Regions from separate parts of the Homo sapiens genome. Here all the other regions are linked to region 4. The links are contacts of gene promoters, found by promoter capture Hi-C in blood cells and fetal thymus (Javierre and others, 2016). All regions are on one chromosome and are shown on one strand. The core of a region is centred on a gene start or on the middle of the fragment in contact, and the rest is flanking DNA. Distances in the headings are between cores, read along the strand shown.

The links. The method cuts DNA at HindIII sites, captures the fragments that hold promoters and counts their contacts. A CHiCAGO score of 5 or more calls a contact.
Region 1: a fragment that was not itself captured here is called in contact with the fragment with the promoter of MTMR8 in region 4 in 1 of 17 cell types (activated CD4 T cells); the score reaches 5.4 in activated CD4 T cells.
Region 2: a contact is called between a fragment that was not itself captured here and the fragment with the promoter of MTMR8 in region 4, in 3 of 17 cell types (total B cells, activated CD4 T cells and total CD8 T cells). The highest score is 6.9, in total B cells.
Region 3: a contact is called between a fragment that was not itself captured here and the fragment with the promoter of MTMR8 in region 4, in 3 of 17 cell types (activated CD4 T cells, total CD4 T cells and total B cells). The highest score is 6.4, in activated CD4 T cells.
Region 5: a contact is called between a fragment that was not itself captured here and the fragment with the promoter of MTMR8 in region 4, in 1 of 17 cell types (naive CD8 T cells). The highest score is 6.3, in naive CD8 T cells.

What each region holds. Positions count from the first base shown.
Region 1 is chrX:63,751,733-63,754,432 of GRCh38, forward strand. All of the region lies in intron 1 of ARHGEF9 (Cdc42 guanine nucleotide exchange factor 9), which reads right to left. Among named protein-coding and RNA genes, the nearest start is that of ARHGEF9, 32 kb to the right of the region's middle. The HindIII fragment of the contact is 1,252 bases long and covers 741-1,992 here.
Region 2 is chrX:65,035,677-65,038,376 of GRCh38, forward strand. All of the region lies in intron 1 of ZC3H12B (zinc finger CCCH-type containing 12B), which reads left to right. Among named protein-coding and RNA genes, the nearest start is that of ZC3H12B, 2.2 kb to the left of the region's middle. The HindIII fragment of the contact is 552 bases long and covers 1,051-1,602 here.
Region 3 is chrX:64,980,806-64,983,505 of GRCh38, forward strand. It overlaps a transcript of ZC4H2 not described here. Among named protein-coding and RNA genes, the nearest start is that of ZC4H2, 5.7 kb to the left of the region's middle. The HindIII fragment of the contact is 3,364 bases long and covers 1-2,700 here.
Region 4 is chrX:64,394,166-64,396,865 of GRCh38, forward strand. MTMR8 (myotubularin related protein 8) reads right to left here and starts at 1,287. Exons shown (of 14, transcript NM_017677.4): 1 at 1,175-1,287. The coding sequence starts at 1,198. RefSeq lists enhancers at 915-1,174, 1,185-1,474. The HindIII fragment of the contact is 5,336 bases long and covers 1-2,700 here.
Region 5 is chrX:63,558,746-63,561,445 of GRCh38, forward strand. It overlaps LINC01278 (long intergenic non-protein coding RNA 1278), which reads right to left and starts at 2,350. Exons shown (of 4, transcript NR_152613.1): 1 at 2,087-2,350. RefSeq lists an enhancer at 1,530-2,071. The HindIII fragment of the contact is 5,008 bases long and covers 1-2,700 here.

The sequences.
Region 1 (2,700 bases), core at 117-2,616, 640 kb before region 4:
CCTTATAGGTCCTAGCACAAGGAGGCTATTCAGAACTGTGGAACTCAATACTGTCTTTCTTCATTCCTACCACCACACCCCGCATCCACACTCAGGAGTGTGCTCCCCCCCACACACCCCCATGAACATACTGCCACACACCCTACACACACACATACATTCCCAGAGGCTTTCTGCCAAAGGTCTGTCAGGCTCACAGAGGAGAAGGCATTTCGTGACACTATTTAAGTCATAAACCTAGATCAAAGACTAGTCTCAGAGACCCCTTCTCCCCTTGGGGGAAAAAAAGTCAAAAAGCATTCCCTTATTGCTGTCCCAGTTTCCTTCCCAAATAACTAGGCAAAAAAAACCCCTTCGCTTAAACTTGTTATCCAGGCTGTAGTACCAGATATCCTTCCCCTCCTCCCATCACCCTTTGATTAACATTTTCTTTTCCTTTTCACTTGTCTTTCCAGCTCATCCCCCCCACCCCCCACAACTTCAAGTGTCTAGGGGTCATAAAATCATAAAATGCAAGAACTTGGAAGTCACCTAGTGGAGCCATCAAAAAATGCCAATGTTACTGGGAATCCCAAACCCACCGAGGAGGAAAAAAATTGTCCAAGGTCAAACAGCTGCTGAATGGAAAAAACAAAAAACAAAACAAAACAAAACAAAAAAACAGGTCTGCAGCTGCCCAGCATAGAGCCATTCCCCACTCTCCAACACTGTATCAAAACAAAGTGCCCAGAAAAGATATAAGCTTACTTTAAATAATACAATGAAGCTAAGGGGGGAAAAAAACTCACTAAATTATCTTTGCAAAGAAATAGGTTCTCAGTTCCATCCAGGGGGTCTCCACAAACGGACCAAAGAGTAATTAATAAGAACCAATGCCAGCAAACCTCCCAGATCATGTTTACACCATGGTACTAATCTCACAAAAACCTCAGCTTCTCACCCACACCAAGTCAAGGATAGCATGCTTTGAGGCCCAAAACACCCTCTGACGCCATTAAATAATACTCTCTGGGTCCTGTGGCCAAGACAATTTCAAAGGCCCCCTTCACAGCCCCTCTCCTTTCATAATCATTTCCAAAGAGACTGAACAACCGGACATGGAACTTGACAGCATAATGCCAGCAGATTTGCACATCAGACATGAACAGCCACCCACATGGGTGGAGGGGGAGCATGTGTGTAGATGTGTATGTGTCCTGATTCACTGCTATAATACATGAGCCATAAATGGCATTATTTCAAGCCAGGTAAGCAATGGAATGGGGAAAGCCTGCCTACATTAACAGGGGAGAAAGAAAATCAAAACGCAAAAAAACAAGTATTATACAGACTGGCATGAGACATTTTTTTTCCTGGCTCTGCCAAGAGCTTTCTCAGAGGAAACAGAAATATAAAAATAATAGCAATAGCAATAACAACAGAAACCACCACCACCATCTGATACAGACAAGCAGTCATATCTCAAACTGGAATGTTGCTTCCAGCTCATGTTTTCCATGCTCTCATCCCTTTCCTTCTAGACGTTTTTGGGTTTTGGTGGTCAAATTTAGCACCAAAATTTGATAACTCTTAATTTAGCACATTACAGACTTTCAGTTTGTTATGGGAATGTTTCAATTACAGAGACCTCTGATCTTAAAGTAACAAACGGGAGCAAACAATAGCATCACCACTTTCTCATCAGCCTTATCAAGTTACATTTAAAATGTAGTTCAAGAACATCATTGCAAACGAGATTATCCCAAAGGAGCCATATCCAAATACTATTATTCCCAAGGTGGATAAAGAGCTGTTTTTTCTTTCTTGTGGGGTTTTTTTTTTTTTTTGATGAGACAAACAAAATCCCCAAACTCAAATCCAGGGGTACAATCTTTGGGAAAGGGAGCCCAAATAGCTCCTGTCAAAGTCCTCTCTTGCCAGTTCAAAAAATCAGAGAATGCTTTCACATACTATTTCATGATTCCAAGGAAATTGACATTTTAAATATCTTAAAGCTTTAAGGTTCAAGAAGTGTTTTAAATGTGGCTTCTTTCAAAATTGAAAATTGTGAACCCTGGAGAGCAAATTGAGATTCAAAGGACACAGTCACCAACTGCCAGCACAACACACCCGTGTCACTTCCCAAATTCTTGCTTCTCCTTAGACACTAAAGAAGCATTTTCCCTAAATCCATTCCTTGCATCGATTATTTTCCCTCTAAATATCCACTGCAAAGACTGTCTTTCCTATGATGTCAAATATTCATCATGCTCTTCCACAAACCCTTTTCCCCTCAAACAAACCCAAATGCACTCCTGATGGCAAGAGAGAAATTTTGACTAAAATTCCCTGATGGAGTTTAAAGGTAGTCTTCAAGGAAATGAGTTAAGACACCACAGACAGCAAAGCCACTGTTTAAGGACGCAGAGCTTGCTCCATGAACGCCACATAGATTAAAAATGCACACACGCATGCACACTTAAATAGAAAGCATTTCTTCATCAACAATTTCACTCAAGCAATAGGCAACTATACGCGCAGGCATTCTTAAAAGACAAGACACGACAAAAGATTTAGGGAGAGATAATATACCAACGTCATACATATCACAGCGAGGCCATGTTGAAGCTCAAAACGTTTTCCCCCCTGAGTAAGAAAGCTTGTTCTTTCTCTCTCTTTCCCTGTCTCTGTCTGTGATTTTTTTTTTTTCTCGGTGGCTCT
Region 2 (2,700 bases), core at 77-2,576, 640 kb after region 4:
TGCTGTCGCTCCATGCCTCAAGGTTTGAACACATAGCTGGAGTGGCCCCTTACTTTTCAGTGTTGTTGCTACTCGTGTGCTAAGACCTCCCGAAAGCCTTGTGCCTGGCTTCTGACTCCTGACATGTACGTTAGGAAGATAGTACTTATATTAAATAATAAAAATAATAAAACAAACACACACTCCATTTGACTTCTAAAGTGCTATCAAACTTGAGAAGTAGGCAGAATGGCTGATTCATAATAGGGGAAACTGGTTTTACAAACTACTTTTCATCCAGAATGGCATACTTCTTTTTTATTATAAATACGATGATGAAACCTAAAATATCCCCAATAAAAGCGAGGATGGGTTGTGATATATCTGTTCTTCCTGAGGTAGCCTGCAGTTGAAGATAGTCGGTTCCAGAAAACATTGGCATGAGGCACCGGAAGTGATATTCTGGACAAGGTGATTAGATGAGGTTCTAAAGTTGTGAGGTGCTTTTTTGAAAATTAGCAACATTATCTTTGATGAATGAGGTTGTTTTCTTAAAAGTAAGTGGTTGAAAAAACTTACAGTCCACAGATGACACCTATCAAAAGCATACTGAATTTAGATTAGTAATTTTGATTGTAAGATAGTTCTGTGAGCAGACAAAAGATGGGTTCTTTTCCCTCCCTATTGGTTTTTAAGCCATTTCAGGTTTCGTTTATCTGATAAGACGTGGCGAGAGAGAAGCGTAATAATGGAAAAGCTAAATTTTCTTTTTTTTGTAAATGCTTTTGAGCTAAAGATTTTTAAAAAGGATATATAGATGCCATTTATGATTAAATTTATTGGGTGAATCTGTCAAGACCGCAAACTTTGTTAGTTTGGGGTAAAATGCTTTGCTTTGGGAGCTTTCATGTTGTTTGAGGTTCTTTGGGGGTATAGTTTAAATTAAAGCACAATATAATTCTAGTACCACTGCAAAATAACCTCAGAGAGTATTGTTTGTTTTGTGCATTAGCAAGCTGACATGCTTCTAGTTGCTAGATTCCAAAGGTAATTTTTTTTTTGTTTTGGAAAAGCTTTTGATGAATTTAAGTCTGAATTATTTGAAATAATAGTGTATCATATGAATACTTGCTCTTCACCTTCACATACTTAGAGAACCCTGCAGTAATTTGAATCCAATCTAGTATTCCATTGAAGTGAGTATGACTATGAAGATGCCGCATACTCTTAAGAGCATTTACCTAGGGTGTCGTAATCACATTATAAAATAAAATTGATGGCTTATTTTGCAAATGCTATCAAAGCACTTGTTCAGTGAACTCTGGAATGAAGTTTTTTTTTTTTTTTAAAGTGACTTTCAACAAGTTTTTATTTTCTAGCTTCTAATGAATGCCTACTACTATACCAGGTATTGTGGAGAATAGAACAGAAACAGCAATTTACCAGTTGGGTAAATTGCTTACCCAATGGTAAATTACCGATGGGTAAATTGCTTAGCCATTGGAAAAAGGAAAATACATATATGAGACACCATGGTCAACAATTGGAACAGAGTCATATTGAATAAGGACTGAAAGAGTTAAGAGTAAAGGGAGAATACTGTAGGCTGGATTTTTCTGAGAAAGCTTTGTAGAGAAAGTCATACTTGATTTGGCTCTTAATAGAAGTATAAGCTTTCTTAGAAGGTGGAAGAGTTCAGCATAGCATGAGCTAAGGCACTTGATTTTCTAATCCTTTTGCATATTTTCTCCTAGGTAAACCTAAAGGAGAAGAGGACTGTCAGTGGCAATTAACTTCTTTGTAGTGGGCATAATTTTCTATGATAAACTACATACTAAATTAACAAATTAAATATAATTTCACAGATATACATGCTATAGAAATCAGGCTTTAAAATAATCATCCTATTTCCTGAGGCAAGTGAGAATGTTTTCTAAGCAGATATAGGTAGAGTGTTAAGTTCACATGTTTTTGTAACCTGTACATTTTTTTTTACTGTCTATTAAGAGACAGTTATATTCTAAGTGTTTCATACAACACTGGTCTGATAGTACATTAGATTATTAATATGCTCCAAAGACTATTTCTTGATAAAATAAATTAGGGAAATTTTATAAGCAACATTCATTTTGATTCATTAGTATATGATAACTTAGTTTTTAGTACTACATTTAGTACTGCTATTGCTACCATTTTCTGAAAACAAAGGGAGGGGTATGTCAGAGTCCCACAAATTCATATCTGTCAAAGTTCTAATATCATGTTATTAATGTATATATTAATAATTGACAACATCAATGTTTAAACTGCAATTACAAACCTCTGCAAAGCTTATTTTGGTACATTTCTAACAACCTTCCGCTATATTGAAAATTAGTCAGATGACTAATTGTCTCCTAGGTTTTAGTCAGCCATTGTAAGTTGACATTTACACAGAAAAATAACGAGGTATGGAGTTATTCCATCCGTAGAGAGGTATGTCTCCTAACAGAAATTCACATATTAGAATTCCAAATATAAAGAATTCACAGATTTACTCTGAGGAACAATATACTCAAACTTGAAATTTTTGAGGCTTTATACACCTTCTGTACCTTTTTTTTGGTATCTTTTGCTGCCAGCAGTAGTCTTCTTTGATTAAAGTTAACTTTAATTCACAGTAGCTAATAGTTTCTAGGCTCAACAAATATAATTGTTATTTTGAACATCCTCTGCTTAGCA
Region 3 (2,700 bases), core at 64-2,563, 590 kb after region 4:
ATCCCAGTTCTTAGGAAGTTTACATTCTAGTAGGAGGAGCCAGACAATAATGACAGAAAAGAAAAAAAAATAAACATAATAATATTTGGGGGAGATAAGCCCATAAGACACTAATTGAGGATAATAGGACAGAATGATGGCAGGAGGGGGAATGTTTTAGTTAGGATGGTCAGGGAAGGCTCCTGTTCAGAGATGACATTGTAGTGGAGACATAAGGAGTTGGGCATACAATGATCTGGAGGAAGAGTGCTCCAGGCAGAACGAATAGCCGGTGCAATGGTCCTGAGTCAGAAAATGCTTAGCCTATGAAAAAAAAAAGTAGGTAGGGCTCTGGCTGATTAAGGGGAGCAGAAGTAGACTGAGGAGACAGTTTATGTCATTGAACTGTTATTCTAAAAACAGGGTCTTGTAAACCATGGTGATGAGTCTGGGTTTTATTCTAATTACAATAGGCAAACATTGAGGGTTTTAAGCAGGGGAGCAACATGATCTAGTTTTTAAACATCACTGACTGCTGTGAGAACAGATTTTATTGGGGCAAAAGTGGAAGTAGGAAAACCAGTGGGAAAACTATTACAGTTGTCCAGGAAAGAAATTATGGTGGCTTGAATTACAGTAGTAATAGTAGATATGAAGAAAAATGGGCTGATTGGGAACATATTATTGGGCACAGAACTGATATGATTAGCTCATGGATAGGATGGAGAGGTACGGAGGGCGAGATAAGGCATCTAAAATGACTCCTGGATTTTTGGCTTCAGTAATAAGGTCAGTGCCATTCACTGAAACAGGAAAGACTGGAAGAGAACCGTACGATGTTAGAGCTAGAAGGCACTCACATGTGATATATGGAAAAACTGAAGAACAGAAATGGTAATTGACCTCCCTAGGTTAGGGAGTTAGGAGCTGAGATAGGTAATCTCATTCTTCACACTCTCTCAGAAAATTTTCATGTTCTCCATCACTTCAGCCCTTCAGCTGGGGTGTTGAGGGGTGTGTTTGAAGCCTTAACTTTGAAGATTCCCCTAGGAGATGGGACTTGTGGGTGATTAGCCAGAATTTGTATCTGCTTACATAGACAGTGCTAGGTATTCTCAGGCAATGTTTCAGCTGAAATTCTTGCTGTTTTTGATGGCTTTATGTCATTGAAATTTCACTCCTCTATTCTTTCTCACCTACCCAATGTCACTGACCTAGATCCCCCAAATGCAAATTTCAGGGAACAAAGATCTGGCAGTGGAAGTAGGGGAGTCCCATTTTTCCCCTCTGCAAGTCCGAAAAACCCTAGTGTAAAAAATCCTATTATAAAAGCAGTCTAGTGTACATCTACTGCATTTTCTTAGTAAACTTTCATCCACACCCTCCCCTCTTCTTCAATTCTCACCTCTTTGAGAGTGACCAAAACTGACTGTCTAGCTCCAATGACCTTCCGTTTCTAACAGCCTCCTTTATATCACCAGAACTAAGTATGGGATTGAGTTTCCAAAAGGGCTGAGTCTTACCAGGTTCCCTGCACATCTTTCCCAGGCTGGGGTACTTTAGAACTACTCATAGGGCCCTTGTCCCCCTCACAGAGCTGTTTAATGATTAAATGAAAAGAGATAAGTTATGAGAAAGCACCTAGCACATTGGTTGAATTATAATAGGCATTGATTACAGGTCAATATCCCTCATCCTTCTCACCACTTGCCCTAATTCTTAGAGTCATTTGGAGAACCCAAATTTGGGGATAATTCAGTGAATAGAAACAGGAGAGAAGCATGAAAAAACTATAAATAAGTTGTCTTGATTTAGGCTTGAGAAGACAATGACAGAGGCTTCATTTAGAAATCTCAAAATGGACAGGGCAGCATTTGATGTGAAGGTTGTAGCCATTATTTCCCCTAAGTTTGGGGCAAAATGGCTTCATTTATAGTAGAAGCGTTAGAGGGATGATAACTTATAAAGCCACAATGACAAATAAGCAACCACAAGGAAAAGATGGACAGATTCAACTGTATAAAAATGTACAATGAAAAATGACACTCATAAAATAAAAATGAAACAGACTGGGAAAGTAAAAATAACACATAAATCTTAGTAGTACCCCACCCAGGGGTTGGTTGCATTGTAAACAATAGACCAAACCTTATGCCTATGAATGAAACATCTGGTATCTGCAAGTAAACAGATTGGGAGAGGAGTGGGAAGGCAGATGTCCTCTCCTGGGCCTTCAAAATCCCCTTGCATATATCACGTATAATTGCCCAGCTTGACTTCCCAGATAGCCCTTCCTTTCCTAGCACAGGTGGCAGTATGCATAGTGGTGAGGCACCCAGACTCTTCAGTCAGGCTGCCTGAGCTCACCTCTGGTCTCTACTATTTTTAGCTATCTGACTCAAGGGCAAATAACTTCCCCTCTATGGGTTTTGGTCTTCTCGTATGGAAAATGGAAATGATAGTAATTGTAACTAACTCTTAGGGTTGTAATTAAATTAATATACGGAACTGGCTAAAACAGCATAATAAATACTGTAGAAGTGTCTGCTATTATTATTAAGATGGATATTCTTCAATAAACTTTCTTGTTACCTCCTTGTTTTCCATCATTGGCAGCCTAGCTCCCCTACCAGACAGGTTCCTATTATCCTCTAAATCACAAGACTTGAAAACGATTGTGCTTATCTACTTGGGAATGAAAATACCAAACAAATGCATCAT
Region 4 (2,700 bases), core at 37-2,536:
GATCTCATGAGACCCATTCACTATCACAAGAACAGCACAGGAAAGCCCTGCCCCCATGATTCAACCGTCTCCCACCGGGTCCCTCCCACAACACGTGAGAATTACGGAAGCTACAAGAGGAGATTTGGGTGGGGACACAGAGAAAAACCCTATCAGTAGGTGAGGAAAGCTAAGGCTCAGAGAGGTTAAATAATTTGTCCAAAGTCATTAGCTAAGTAGTTGGTGGGGGTGCAGTGGGCAGCACTTTAATTCAAGTCTTCTGGCTTCAAAATCCATGCTCTTTCCATTAAAAACACGCTGGATTTTTTACCAGGACTTCAATTAGCCTGGACCACGTGTGTTATGATCAACAGGAAAAAATAACCACAGACTAGTTGTGAATTTTTCACTGTTCCCCAGCCCCAGACAGGAGAAAGGAGGGAAGTGGATTTGAAACAGAAAGGGGCTGGCGTTGGGAAGGGAGGGAGTAGGATCTGGAAAGATGAGAGGAAAAAGTAGCAGAAGTAACTCTAACTCGGGACTGGCTAAAAACAGGTGACAACTGGCTAGATAAACCTCTTGGGTTTCTCCTACCGGCTGAGCAGAGCCAGATCCACTCTGCCCCACTCCTCTTCCTTTTCCATTGCCCAGCTTTGGCTGAAGAGATGCTGTGGCCCCCACAAACCCTCACAGGCATGCCGTGGAGCTGGAGCGAGAGTGGGGTTCTGGGCAATCCCTGGGGAAGGTTAGTGGCTGGAGGAGCCAAGAGGATGGTGAAGAAACGCTCGATAAAGGAAGTAACTCCGCAGGAGGCAGAGCAATGTGGGGTATTCGCGAATGGCGGTTACAAGTGCAGCTAGTATAAAAAGCTGAGATAAGGGTGAGTGTGAGGTCAAGGCTAGGGAGGAGCTGGAGTCAGAGGGCCAGAACAGGCGTGCACCAGGAGCGGGGGCGGCGTCGCGTAAGGGGACAGTGGTGCAGACCACCTCTTTCCCGGCCGCTGACGCCCGCAAGCAGATCCTAAGAAGAGGTGTTTGGTTGAAAGGGGGTGTGGACCCAGAAAGAGAACCCGGGACCCCCCACAGGAAAGACGCGTCAAAGAAGGCTGAGAAGGCTGAGGAGGTGTGTCTGGGCTCCCAGGTGAGCACCAAGAGGAAGCTCGCGGCTGTCAGCCTCGCTTAACTCTTCTCCTTACCTTGGGTACCGTAATATGATCCATGACTGCAGTTCCCGCCACCGGAAGATCTCAGTGCTACTCCAGATGCCGCCGCCACCGGTCTAGCCGCCTCCTGCCTCAACCCGGGTTTCTACCCCCGCCCTCCCGGTCCTGGCTCAAACTCTCGTCACCTGATCCTCGGCGAAAGCTCCTATCGCGACACTTTGACCGTAGCCGTTCCCGCCATCTTGCTTCCTGGCAAGTGCCCTTTTCTTCGGGAAATTGATTATTCTGGTTCAGGTTCAACGTTTGGCCGAGTCTTTAAGTCCCAGATTCGAGTACTGCCACCCTTCTCACCCTTCTTGATGCTATAAGGGCTCTGAACACAGATATCACTCCTTTACTCTAATATTACAATGATAGCATCCTGCAGCAGTAACACAGGCTGCCCCATGCTGGCAATTGGGTTTCTGAAGAGCTTCCTAGCTGTGAGACCTTGGGCAAGTCACCAGAGAATATTTTTTGAAATATGGAAAGGTATATCCTCCTCTCTATCTCTCCTTTATGTGTCTGCTGCCATCAACCTAGTTAAAATCTGGAATACTACAGTATCCTCATCACTTTTGCCATCGTAGATATGGGAAGAGGACCAAGAAAGGGCCCACTGGACCAGCTATCAGATGAGGGGTAAATAGGTGCAGACCCTCAGTGGTGTGCTCCAAGTCAGATTTGTGGTGGAAAAAAGAACAATCTGAGAGTTGGGAAATCTGGATTCTACTCCTCTCAGGTCTGCCACTAACTTGCTATGTGACCTTGGGGAAATCATGCCACCTCTCTGGGTCTTAAGTTGACCAAGGTTACAATGAGGGTATTGGCCACTATCTCAGGGTAATTTCTAGCTCTACTATTGCAGTGTTATGGTTTGCAATCTCACTGCCCCTACAAAATAATTTTGTTCTTCTTTGAGTTCTTATAACATTTGCTAGCAAAATTACTCGTTTATCATATTCTGCCTTCTTCCCTAGCCTGAAGGCCCTTCCCTCGATCCATGACCCTATTCTCCCTTGTACCATCGTTCCATCATGTTCAGCCCTTTCACTGCCAAATATCTCAAAAGAATAGTCTACTTATCATCACCTTCACTTCTCCATAACAAACTCACTCCTCCCTACCACTCCACTCAATTGGCTCTTTCACATCATCCTAAATTCCAGCTGCTGATTCCAACAGCTCTTCTCAGTGCTCGTTTTCTATTTGTTTTACAGCATTTAAAACTATTGATTCATATTCCTTTTTGACATTCTTTCTTCCCTTGACCTTTATTATAAACAAACTCACTGCCTGCATCCCCAACTGTTCCTTCTCTGACTCCTTCCCAGCAACTTTCTCTTTTTTTTAAGCCATTTTCCTGGCTTCTATCCTCATTCCTCTTCTATTTTCTTTCTTTTGGTTATCTTGATCTCTTCCACAAGTTAAACCCTTACTCCTGGATATGGCTTGGATCTGTGTCCCCACCAAATCTCATGTTTAATTGTAATCCCTTACGTTGGAAGTGGGGCCTGGTA
Region 5 (2,700 bases), core at 160-2,659, 840 kb before region 4:
GTGGGTGCCTGTAGTCCCAGCTACTCAGGAGGCTGAGGTGGGAGGACTGCTTGAGCCCGGGAGGCAGAGGTTGAAGTGAGCAGAGATTGTGCCACTGCACTTCAGCCTGGGCGACAGAGTGAGACTTTGTCTCAAAAAAAAAAGTGAAATAATTTTTCCAAAGTAATCCATCAAATAATTCATAGAGCAAGGAAATGCATTACAATGTCCATTAACATAAATACATGTACTGAAAACTGAAACAATCAAAGTGGTCATTCATAAAATGGAAAAATAAATTGTGGTAGAGTTACACATTAGAAACAGTACAGTAGGGAAAATAAATTAACTGTTAATAAAAGTTATCAACATAAAGCTCCCAACCATATTTTGACTAAAAACAAGTTGAGAAGAATATATACAGTATACCATTTATATTAGATTTTAAAGGAAGTAAAATATATATTTCTGAGATATAAATGTACATGTGGTAAAAAATTTAAAAAATTATTCATAGAAAAAATAAACCCCAAACTCATGATTGGAGTAATGGAATTAAGGAAGGTTACACAGAAGATCTCAGCTGTATTGATCAAATTTTTACTTGTTAAACTGAGCTAAGGCTACAATGGTATCGGTTGAATTTTTCTTTACAACCTTGTGTATTGCTTAATATGTAATACTTTAAAAAAGAAAGTAAATGGTATCTGGAGTATAAAAATTAATGTTGAAATAAATGTACATGGATCTTTAAGAAAAAAAAGAAAGAAAGAAAGTTGGGGAAGGACGTTGAGAAGGAAAGCAGAAGTGGGGAGGAAAAACAAATGCTACAATTCCACTACCCAGAGATTTTCATTGCTAGTTGTTTTGTTCATAATTTCCTATAGCATTTTTTCTGTTCATATAGAAGTATGTATTCACATATATTGTAAAGAAATATTTGATAATATTATGACTACTACTAGAAAACCTATTTTGTAACTTATTTCACAGGCACCAAATCAGTGCCATTTAAAAGGGCTGTATTCTATCCAATCATATTGTTATACCACAATTTATTTTACCAATTCACTATTGATGGGCATTTAGATTATTTCCAAAGTGTGCTATTACAAATAATGCTGCAATTAACACATTATATGTGTATGTGCATACCTGTGTGTATTTTCAGTAGTAACTGTGTTGAAAAAAAATTCCTAAGGGTAGAATTTCTAGGTCAAAGACTAAGAGGTTTTCAAGTTTGTTACATATGCCAAATAGCCCAACAATAAATGATTATACTAATTTACACACTTAATACTGTAATTGAGTGCCAGTGTCCCCAAACTCTGCACAACACTGGGCATAAACAATCTTTTTATCCCCTTGTCAATCATAATCTGCTATTCCGTTTTTTCATGTGCATTTATTAGTGAAGCTGAGTCACTTTTTAAACGTTTACTCACCATACTTGAATAACTTCTTCTGATTTTTTTGCCATTTTGTTAACATTTTTGAAGTTTTAATTATTATGGATATATAATAGTTGTACATATTTATGGGGTACATGTGATATTTTGATTAGAACATACAATGTGTAATAATCAAATCAGAGTAGATGGTATAACCATCACCTCAAGCATTTATCATTTCTTTATGTTAGAATCATCTCAATTCCGCTTTTTAGTTATTTTGAAATACATAATAAATTATTGTTAACTATAGTCGTCCTATTACGCTACCAAACACGAAATCACAAATACCAGGAAAGTTAACGGAGAACTGGATCAGGAGCCAAAATGTTTACATTCGAATTAAGGCTCTGGATTAATGAAAATGCGTAACCAGGAAAAGAAAGAACAAGAATAATGGGGACATAGAGGGTGAGAGAGGAGAAAAACGAGAAGAAAAAGCCATGTAAGGAAAAAGAATTTGCGCCTCAGGGTCCCCCTCCCCCTCTGCCCTGTTCCAGACACCTATTCTCATTCCCGCACTCCTACCCCTGGCGTCCTGCTAGCTGGTCTGGCTTCCTTCCCTCTGGAAAAAGGCAAATTATTCAATAAAGGGAGGATGAGTCCTAGCTCATCCCCACTTCTTGTCTCCTGCCGGGTGTTCAAATACAACTTACCACGCAGTCACCGCCATCCAACTGCATGTCACTCTCCACTTCGCCACGGTCTGAACTCTTGGCCACAAGATCTAAGCCTTCCGGATGCCCCAGCCAGTTCAGGCTGCTGGTCTCTTGTCCCTAAGCCTTTGCCGAGGTAGTCGGCTTACTTGATGCCAGCACACCAGGCCCCCCACCACCCGCTGGAAGCACAGGCCCCAGCTCAGGTCAGGTTCCGGAACCTAGCGTCCCCAGGTTCTCACGTGACTTAGTTTCCCAGGCAATAGCGCTTTTCTCCCGGATGTAGCAGTCAGCTGAAATGGAGAGAGTGCTTCTTAAAGTTAACCCTCAAACCACCATGGCCAGTGAATGCAGAATAAGCCCGCTGAGAGTTTCGTCTATTTCTATGGCATTATGCTGGAAATTATAAAGAAAAGGGATGAAAAAAACTGGAGACTTTTCACCAACAACAACATACAGATCTGTATTATTAGGATTCTTAAAATGAGTATGTGTTGTTTTTATAATTAAACTAACAAAAGGAAAATAAATAATGATGAATAATTAAAGCGGGATTATGTATACAACAAAACCGTATGATTACAACAGCACCTTATGTAGCTTTGAAAATAGGT